Regions from separate parts of the Homo sapiens genome. Here region 2 is linked to region 1. Evidence: promoter capture Hi-C in human tissues and cell types (Jung and others, 2019). All regions are on one chromosome and are shown on one strand. Each heading gives the region's core, a stretch centred on a gene start or on the middle of the fragment in contact. The rest is flanking DNA. Distances are from core to core; before and after follow the strand shown.

Region 1 (5,116 bases), core at 2,001-4,500:
GAGGCTGTCCCCTATTGTCTTCAAAGGTCCCCAACCCCTTCTCTATCATGTGAAAAATAACTCTGCATTCTAAGATAAGGCACTGTAGATGCTGCAAACCAGGGGTGTAGTGGAAGCATGCCCTCCATCACACTTACAGTTCAAGCCCTCCTTCTGCAGCCCTGCTGTTTCCAAAATTCCAGCAGGACAGCTGACAACTGCAGCAAAGAGCAATTATTTCTCTGAAAAAAAAAATTTCAAAGTGACTTGGTGAAGCAGGGTAAGAAGAGTTCACCAGAAGCCACCTGATAGGGTTCGGCTGTGTCCTCACGCAAATCTCATTTTGAAACGTAACTCCCATAATTCCCACATGTCATGGGCGGGACCCGGTGGGAGGTAACTGAATCATGGGGGTGGGTTTTTCCCATGCTGTTCTTGCAATAGTGAATAAGTATCACGAAATCTGATGGTTTTATAAAGGGCAGTTCCCCTGCACACGTGCTCTTGCCTGCCCCCATGTAAGATGTGCCTTTGCTCCTCCTTCACCTTCCGCTATGAGGAGGCCTCCTGGGCCGTGTGGAACTGTGAGTCCATTAAGCCTCTTTTTCTTTATAAATTACCCAGTCTTGGGCATTTCTTCAGAGCAGTATGAAAATGGACTGATACACCACCTCTGCCAAGAATCTGTACATTGTCTAATGTGTTTTTCGTCTCACAGTAAGACCAAATAATTGATGTATCTAAAATGCTACACAACAACAACAACAACAACAAGTTTTTCTGACCTGTTGGAGAGGAATGAGGCCAACTATTCCTGCCACTCTCGTTTCTCCTTTACATGTACCTGTGAATAATAAGCAAATATGCTGTCCTATAATATAAAGGTGACCATATCAATTAGGAGCACATGTGTAAATAATCTAAAGATGGTTAGTTCAGTCTGCTGAGGTTTATGCATGCACAAGTCATGTTCATTTGTGATTCTCTGATACAATTTAGTAAAGAAGCATCCACACCTAGTTTATCTATTACTTTGGGGATTAGTAACCAAGTTCATTCTCAACTCCTGGAGCAGTAAAATCCGATTCTTTTTCTAGAGAGAGAAAAAAATATGTGAATACTTGAGACAAAAGCCAGAATTCAAATAACTGCAAATATCTAGGTGAAAATGGATTCATTACTTTCTCCTCTGGATACCTAATTAGTTAAGAAGATCTCCTTCTGTAGAATAAAGTATTTTAAAAGTTCATGAATTCCTGGGGGAAAGAAGAGAAACAGGCATTAAGTGTCTGACCACCCATGTCTCAACACGCTAGGCAGTTATCCTTCTTGTAGCCCTCACAACAGCCCTGCGAGGACTGGTTATTTTATCTCCTTATAGATGAAGAAACTTAGGCTCGAGAATGCTGGAACATCTCAGGGCACAAAGATGGGGGCAGAGAGAAGGTCTGAGTCCGGGGCAGATAGGCCTTCCACTCCAACAGTGTTTACCAGACCAGAATCACCTGGGAGTACTTGCGGAAAATACAAAATCCAGCAAGCCCCATTCTCTCCACGCCGCTCATCAACAGGAAAGCTTGGGAAAGACAATACTACTTCACGACCCAGTCAGGAGACCCGAACTTGTTCCATTCCTACATTCGTGACTTCTCCACCCAAGGACACTCCCCGCACCCGCGCCCCAACGCCTTCACAAAACCCAACATATCCGCGATCAAACCTTCAACTCTCCCAGTGGCCCCCAGAGGTCCAGAGCTTGGAATCTTCTTCTGCCTCCTCACCTCTGAATCCCGCCATTCTTCTCCCTCCTGTAGAATTTCATTTCCTGGCTGGGACCAGGCTCTAACCATCAGGCTTCCAGCCGGGCCCCGGAACTTGCAGCCCGCTCTAGCCTGTCTGGCTCCTGCCCGAGCCCCTCGGCTCCAGCCTGCTCTCATCCCAACCCTGCCTCTTCCGTCGGTCACGTTGTTTCCTCCGCTTGGAAGGACCTCTTTCCTCTCCGGGCCCTTCCCAGTGCTCGGGGAACTCCTACACAGCCTGCGCTCCTCCGCTTCCAGCCACCCTCGCCTCCCACCACCCTGGCTTTGGAGCTGAACCGGCCGCGCAGCCGGGCGGCGACCATCCGTCCCCCGGCCGCTGACCCCAGCGCTCCGGCCTCGCCGCAGTCCCTGGCCCCTCGGCGTTCGTTTCCCCACCCGCCACCTGGCTTTCGCCGCCGCCGCCCGGGAAGCCCTCGGCACTTCCCAGAATAGAGAGCAGCTGCCAACGTCAGGCTGCCGCCTGCCGCGGGGTTCCGGACACGCGGGGTCTGGGCGGAGAGGACGTGACTCCGCGCTGGCCTTCCGCCTTCCCTCCCCGGTCGGGAAACTGAGGCCCGGGACCGGGAACCACTTCCCCGCGAGCACGGTCCGCGAGGGCCCGGCCAACCCCGGTCCTAGGCGTCCCGACTCCCGCGCGCGATCCTTCGACCACACGCGCCGCTCGGTCACCTCAGAGAGCGTGGCGGGGAGCGGGTCTCAGAGCGAGCGCACGGCCCGGGAACGCGCAGGGCGCCAGCCCCGGCCAAGTCGCTGCGAAAGTTGTTGTCTCCCAGCCTGCCCTCGCCTCTCACCTCCGGGACACACCTTCCCGCTTGCCCTGGCAGCAGCGCACTCACATCCGGTCCACCTTGCGCACACCCCTCTCCGCGCTCACTCGCAGCCCCTCTCCCTCCCACGCCCGCGGCTCCCCGTCGCCCCCTCGCGCGCTCCCACCCGCGCCCGGGGCGCGCCTTCCCCGCCCCGCCGCTCGCCCGGCCTCGGCGCCGCGCCCGCCCGGGGTTCCGGCGCCCGGAGCCCCAGCCCGGGGCCGCGACCCGCTTCCGCCCGCCTGGCGCGGGGCCGGAGCCCGAGCAGCCACTGCCGAGCGCGGTGGGCGCGAGGCGAGGGGCGCAGCGGCGCGGGGCGGGGAGGGGGCGCTCGCTCGCTCCCTCTCGGCTGCGCACACGCCCGTACAAACTCTCACACAGACACACGCGGGGTGCGCTGCCGCCGCCCGCCGCTGCTCCTCCTCCCGCCACCGCCTTGAGAGGGAGAGAGAGGGAGGCAGAGAGAGCGCTTTGTCCGCGCGCCGCCGCCCGGCCCGGGACTCTGCCCCGAGGAGGCAGCCGCGCCGAGTCCCCGCCTCCGCCTCTGCCCCCGGGCGGGCCGGGCCGGCCGCGGTGGGGGGAGCCAGGCTGAGGGTGGGGGTGGGTGGCGGGCGGGCGGAGGGCGGGGAGGGGGGGCGGAGGAGGAGGAGAGACGAGGGCAGCGGAGGAGGCGAGGAGCGCCGGGTACCGGGCCGGGGGAGCCGCGGGCTCTCGGGGAAGAGACGGATGATGAACAAGCTTTACATCGGGAACCTGAGCCCCGCCGTCACCGCCGACGACCTCCGGCAGCTCTTTGGGGACAGGAAGCTGCCCCTGGCGGGACAGGTCCTGCTGAAGTCCGGCTACGCCTTCGTGGACTACCCCGACCAGAACTGGGCCATCCGCGCCATCGAGACCCTCTCGGGTGAGCACTCAGCGCGGCCCCCTCCCCCCGCCTCGCCCCGCTCAGGCCGGGACGGCGCCGGGAGGGAGGCCGAGTCCGGCGGGCGGCGCCCGGCGGCGGCTCCCGCGCCCGCACGCTCACTTCCACGCACCAGACCCTCAACTCTCGCCGCCGGCCCGCTCCTGGGACGGCCCGCTCCCCTCCCCCCACAGCTCTGGACTCTGCCCTCGCCCTCGGGGCCGCAGCCTTGGGGCGCCCCCCGTGCCGCTCCGAAGGCTCCCGAGGCTCGCCGGCTCCTTAGGGGCACCCCTCGTTCGCCTGGCGCCCCGGGCTGCTCTGAGCTTCCCCGCCCCCCACCCTTTGAGCGTCCCCTGTCTCACTTCTCCCCTGACCTTCCTGTCACCCCCTTTGTCAGGGTCCCCCCTTCCCCAAATCCAGCGTCTCTTCCTCCTCCCCCGGCCGGACCTTCTCTCTTCCAGTGCCTCGTGCCCAGAACCTCTCGCCCTCTGGCGTCTCCTGAGCCGCACTCTCCTTTCGAGCCCCCTCCCCACCTCGCCCCACGGCCCCCCACTTTTGGCACCCCCTCGGCGCCACCCTGGTGACCCCCTTCGAGATCTCGGGGCTCCCCCAGCCCCAGCCCTCGCACGACGGCACATCCCCTCGGTCCTTTCCCGAACCTCAGTCCCCTCTCGCTTGCTCTCTCAAGCGCTCCTATTTTTCTCTGAATTTTTTGTCCGATTTTATTGAGAAGAACTCGGGGCTGGGGGCTTTCCGCCGCCCGTCCCCCCGCCTCCCGCTCGGCCAGAAGCACCTTTTTACGAGGTGCCCTGTCTCAACTCGGTGGGGGCCAGGGTTGAGAACCGGGAAAGAGGCGACCGGGGGGCCCGCGAGCGCGCTGGAGCCCAGACAGGAGACGGAGAGCGACACACACACACACTCGCGCGCGCGCACTCCCCAACTCTCCCCAGCACACGCTCCGCTCCCAGCCGCGCGGGCCCCCGGGCCCCGGCCGGCGCCCCCCGAACCCCGGCCCGGCGGGAGCCCCTTCCCCACCGGCGTGTGGAGTGGGGGCGGGGCGGCGGCGAGGCCAAGGTGACACCCAGGAGCGGGCAGGGACAGGGCTGTCGCTGCGGCGGACTCCGGGGGGCTTCGGCTCGTTTTCTCGGGGCCACCGGGAGGAGAGGGCAGGGAGGGGAGCCCGGTGGAGCCTTCGGGCCCCGGATTAGCGGAATGGAGAGGTGGGGGCCGGGAGAGCAGCGGGGCCGCGCCAGCCCTGCAGCTTGAGTTTCAAATGAGCTCATCCTTTCAAATTGGCGCCGCTCTTTATTAAATTTGTTTTTCCGGTAATGCCACCCACGGCTATACCTGGGGTCCGACCCGGGCTCGCACCCTCCTCGCCTTGTCCCGAGACACGGGGCGCCCACCTTTCTTTCTACTGGGAACCAAGTTCGCCCAGCTCGATCCGGGTAGGAGACCCCTTGGGGGCGCCCGAAGGCGGAGCCCGAGCGTGGAGTTCCGTGCGTGCCCCCCCTAGACCCCCGCGGGCTTGATCTAAGCAAGGTTCTGAGTGCTTTAATTTCTGTTTTAAAGGTAAAGTGGAATTGCATGGGAAAATCATGGAAGTTGAT
Region 2 (5,278 bases), core at 2,303-4,802, 52 kb before region 1:
TTCCATTGTCATAGTTAGCAGTTAGCTCCCTTCTCTGTATGCCCAGCTTCAGGTCTATGTATGAAGGTGGCCACAGGGCTTCCCTCCATGGATGTCTTCCTGGCATCTAAAACTCACTGTGCTCAAGCTGAATCACCAGCTTCTTCCCCAAACTGGCTCCTCCGCCTACATCCTCTATTTCTGTGTTTGTCCCCCTCCCTCTCCCACATGTTTTACCTGGAAGCCTAGAAGTATCATTAACTTCTGTTCTCCCCTGGCCTCTCATCCCCTCAGTCATTCAGTTCTGTTGAGTCCATCTTGTACATACCTAGTGAATGGGTCCATTGCGCCCCCTCTCTGCCAATACACTGCGCAAGCCACCACCCCTTCTTATCTGGACACACAGCAACAATCTCCTAAGTGGTCTCTCCGCCTTTGCCTTCTCAGTAAAGTAGACGTACTTTTATTTCTGTCACAGAATCAGGGCTAATTTGAACGCAGGTCAATTTTTTTTTTTTTTTTTTTTTTGAGATGGAGTCTCGCTCTGTCACCCAGGCTGGAGTGCAGTGGCGAGATCTCAGCTCACTGCAACCTCTGCCTCCCAGGTTCAAGCAATTCTCTGCCTCAGCCTCCTGAGTAGCTAGGATACCAGGCATCCACCACCATGCTCGGCTAGTTTTTTTATTTTTAGTAGGGGTGGGGTTTCACCATCTTGGCCAGGCTGGTCTTGAACTCCTGATCTCGTGATCTTCCTGCCTCAGCCTCCCAAAGTGCTGGGATTACAGGCGTGAGCCACCGCGCCTGGCCTGGTTTTTTTGTTTTAATTATTATTATTATTATTTTTGAGATGGAGTTTCACTGTTATCACCCAGGCTGGAGTGCAGTGGCACGATTTCAGCTCACGCCTGAGGTTCCAACCTCTGCCACCCAGGTTCAAGCGATTCTCATGCCTCAGCCTCCTGAGTAGCTGGAATTACAGGTGCGCATTACCACACCGGGCTAATTTTTGTATCTTTAGTAGAGACGGGGTTTCACCGTGTTGTTCAGGCTGGTCTTGATCTCCTGACCTCCAGTGATCCTCCCACCTCAGCCTTCCAAAGTGCTGGGATTACAGGCATCAGCCACTGCACCCAGCCTGGGATACGTGAATGTTTTAACAAACAGAGTTGTAATAGTTGACATGCCAAAAGGAATAAGGGGGCGAGACTGTGGTATCTTACTGTCCCTTTAAAAGATTACAGACCTTGTGGGAGAAGTCCTTCCTCCACCTCATCAGCCACAGGAATGACAAGATGACAGACTGCAACAGCCAGTCTGTCCACGCACAGTGCAGGTGGAAGTGCAGAAGACTGTGCAGGCACCGCAGGAGACTGGGCGGGCAGCAGGACACCAAGCCTGGAGCAGAGCAGAGAACAAGATTTCTTGGAGTGTGAAGGTCAGTGCCTCTAGCTTCAGAGGGGTTGGGGTTAAGGAATTGAAAACAAAATAAAACAAAAATCCTAAATTATCGATACTTATGGATATTCCATCCTCTTTAGATTGTATCATTTGACTATGACTCACAAGAAATATATTTTTACATTGTGGTGTAATATAAAAATACATAAGAAACAAATTTTTCAAAAAGAATATATGTTGCTATGTGTGACAAAGTAAAAATATATCAAAATTTGTATTAAAGATTAGCAGAGGCCAGGCGCAGTGGCTCATGCCTGTAATCCCAGCACTTTGGGAGGCCGAGGCGGGCAGATCACCTGAGGTCAGGAGTTCAAGACCAGCCTGACCAACATGGTGAAACCCTATCTCTACTAAAAATACAAAATTTAGCCAGGCGCAGCGTCTCATGCCTGTAATCCCAGCTATTCAGGAGGCTGAGGCAGGAGAATTGCTTGAACCCAGGAGGTGGAGGCTTTGATGAGCTGAGATCGTGCCACTGTACTCCAGCCTGGGCAACAGAGTGAGACTCCATCTCAAAACAACAACAACAAAAAGATTGGCTGGGCACGGCGGCTCCCCCTGTAATCCCAGCACTTTGGGAGGGTGGGCGGATCACCTGAGGTCAGGAGTTTGAGACTAGCCTGCCCAACATGGTAAAACCCTATCTGTACTAAATATACAAAAATTAGCTGGGCGTGGTGATGGGCATCTGTAATCCAGCTACTCAGGAGGCTGAGGCAGGAGAATCACTTGAACCTGGGAGGCGAGGGTTGCAGTGAGTTAAGATCGTGCCATTGCACTCCAGCGGGGGCAACAAGAGTAAGACTCCATCTCAAAAAAAAAAAAAAAAAGATTAATGTGCCGGGTGTGGTAGCTCACGCCTGTAATCCCAGCACTTTGGGAGACCAAGGCGGGTGGATCACTTGAGGCCAGGAATTCAAGACCAGCCTGGCCGACATGGCGAAACCCTGTTTCTACTAAAAATACAAAAATTAACCAGGCGTGGTGATGCATGCCTGTAGTCCTAGCTACTCGGGAGGCTGAGGCAGGAGAATCGCTTGAAGCTGGGAGGCAGATGTTGCAGTGAGCTGAGATGGCACCATTGCACTCCAGCCTGGGAGGCAGAGCAAGACTCTGTATCAAAAAAAAAAAAAAAAAAAATTAAAAATTTTTAAAAATGAAGCTTATTATTGTATATTAAATACAATATAGAGAATTTTCAATAAACACTACAAAAACAAAAATTGGAAAACACTGTGATTATAAAAACGTGGGCTGGGCTCCCAGCACTTTGGCAGGCCGAGGTGGGAGGAGCACGTTTGAAACCCTGGATGCCAGGAGTTCAAGATGAGCTTGGGCAACATAGTGAGACTTCATCTCTACTGAAAAAAAAAAAAAAAAAGGCCGGGCACGGTGGCTCACGCCTATAATCCTAGCACTTTGGGAGGCCAAGGCGGGTGGATCACCTGAGGTCACGGGTTGGAGACCAGCCTGGCCAACATGGAGAAACCCCATCTCTACTAAAAATACAAAAATTAGACAGGTGTCGTGGCATATGCCTGTAATCCCAGCTACATGGGAGGCTGAGGCAGGAAAATCGCTTGATCCTGAGAGGCGGAGGTTGCAGTGTGCTGAAACCGCGCCACTGCACTCCAATCTGGGCAACAGAGTGAGATTCTGCCTCAAAAAAAAAAAAAAAGTGAGTATCGAGTCTTGTTTCTAGGTCCATACAACTTGCTTAGTACTTTCCCTGAAGACAGCCAACAAACTTGGGTATGGGTAGCTCCAATATCTCAACAAAATATCTGAAAAGATCAGTACTTCAGTACTTAATTAAGTATAATAACAAAAGACTAGAAAGAATCCGAGTATCTTTTAGGAGGGAACTGATGGAATTAATTATGGTATATAATAGAATACTGCGCAGATGTAAAAAGCCATGAGGGGCCGGGCATGGTGGAGCATGTCTGTAATTCCAGCACTTTGGGAGGCCAAGGCAGGTGGATCGCCTGAGGTCAGGAGTTCAAGACCAGCCTGGCTAACATGGAGAAACCCCATCTCTACTAAAAATACAAAAATTAGCCAGGCATGGTGGCGGCATCTGTAATCCCAGCTACTAGGGAGGCAGGAGAATCACTTGAACCCAGGAGGCAGAAGTTGCAGTGAGCCGAGATTGCGCCACTGCATTCCAGCCTGGGTGACAAGAGCAAGACTCCATCTCAAAAAAAACCAAAAAAACAAAAAAACAAAAAAAGCAATAAGGAATACCTATATATACTGCTATAGTATATATAGCAGTATATATAGTATAGGTGCTCTGGACATATTAGCAAATGAAAAAAGAAACCCCCAAAACTGTGTATGGTATGCTAGAGGGAAGGAAAGGATAGAGGAGACAGGGATCGAAAAACCCTTCCGAATACATCTTGTTTTACACATTTGACCATGGAATCATGTAAACATTTTATATAAGCATAAAATATGTATTTTGTTTTTATTTTTTATTTTTTTCAGAGATAGGGTCTCACTCTGTTGCCCAGGCTAGAGGGCAGTGGCATGACCATAGGTCACTGCAGCCTCAACCTGCTGGGCTCAAGCAAGCAATCTTCCCTTTTCAGCCTCCTGAGTAGCTAGGACTACAGGTGTGCACCACTACACCCGGCTTATTTTTATTTTTTTAAATAGAGACAGGGTTTCACCGTGATGCCCAGGCTGATTTTGAACTCCTAAGCTCAAAGCAATCTGTCTGCCTCAGCCTCCCAAAGTGCTGGGATTACAGGCGTGAGTTACAATGCCCGGCCAATTTTTAAATTTTTTTTGTAGAGACAAGGTCTTGCTATGTTGCCCAGGCTGGCCTTGAACTTGCCTCAAGTGATCCTCCCAAAGCACTGAGATTACAGGTGTGCGCCACTATGCCAGCCAAAATATGTATTTAAAAAAAAAAACTCCAAAATATCAAAAGCAAAATGAGATAAACAACCCTAATTTATGTATGTTGAGTTGGTGGTATAACCATACAAATATGAATTATTTCAAATGAGTTTAAAATGCTCTAATTTGAATGTATATTCTTAGTGGGATATACCCTAAGGATAAAAACAATTGGAAAAAAAAAATCCAAATTCATTTTTAACAATCATGTTTGTGTTAATGTCAGTGCTGTTATTCTAAGATTGTTGTGTGTGCATTTTGAGATAAAGCAACAGCGTGGTTATACCGATTTTTTGGTGGAGGAAGAAAAGAAGTAGATTAAGGTAGATGAGGTTAAGAAAAAATCCTGTATTCCTGAGTTTGAATTGGAAGTGTCACTACATGGCTGGGCACAGTGACTCACTCCTGTAATCTCAAAACTTTGGAAGGCCGAGGTGGGTGGATCATTTGAGGTCAGGAGTTCAAGACCAGCATGGCCAACATGGGGAAACCCCATCTCTACTAAAAATACAAAAATTAGCCGGGCGCGGTGGCAGGCACCTGTAGTCCCAGCTACTCAGGAGGCTGAGGCAGGAGAATCACTTGAACCCAGGAGGTGGAGGTTGTAGTGAGCCGAGATCATGCCATCGCATTCCAGCCTGGGTGCCAGAGCGAGACTCTGCTCAAAAAAAGAAAGAAAGAAAAAAAAATATATATATATATATACACATATATATATACACACACACACGTATATATATATATACATATATATATATATACTTTAGCTAAGCTGATACAATACAAATTCACCACAGTCACCTCTTGTCAACTTGGCACTCTTACATACCTCTTTTTTTTTTTTGAGATGGAGTTTCACTCTTGTTGCCCAGGCTGGAGTGCAATGGTGTGATCTCAGCTCACTGCAACCTCCGCCTCCCAGGTTCAAGCA

Evidence for each region. Contacts are between HindIII fragments. The study calls those that stand out against the background at their distance.
Region 2: a fragment that was not itself captured here is called in contact with the fragment with the promoter of IGF2BP2 in region 1 in 3 of the 25 tissues and cell types used here (IMR-90 fibroblasts, adrenal gland and mesenchymal stem cells).

The regions. Positions count from the first base shown.
Region 1 is chr3:185,823,176-185,828,291 of GRCh38, reverse strand. IGF2BP2 (insulin like growth factor 2 mRNA binding protein 2) reads left to right here and starts at 3,250. Exons shown (of 16, transcript NM_006548.6): 1 at 3,250-3,509; 2 at 5,079-5,116. The coding sequence starts at 3,332. RefSeq lists silencers at 2,433-2,522, 2,933-3,202, 3,214-3,444 and an enhancer at 4,384-5,116. The HindIII fragment of the contact is 4,290 bases long and covers 612-4,901 here.
Region 2 is chr3:185,875,069-185,880,346 of GRCh38, reverse strand. No RefSeq gene overlaps it. Among named protein-coding and RNA genes, the nearest start is that of IGF2BP2, 53 kb to the right of the region's middle. The HindIII fragment of the contact is 7,069 bases long and covers 18-5,278 here.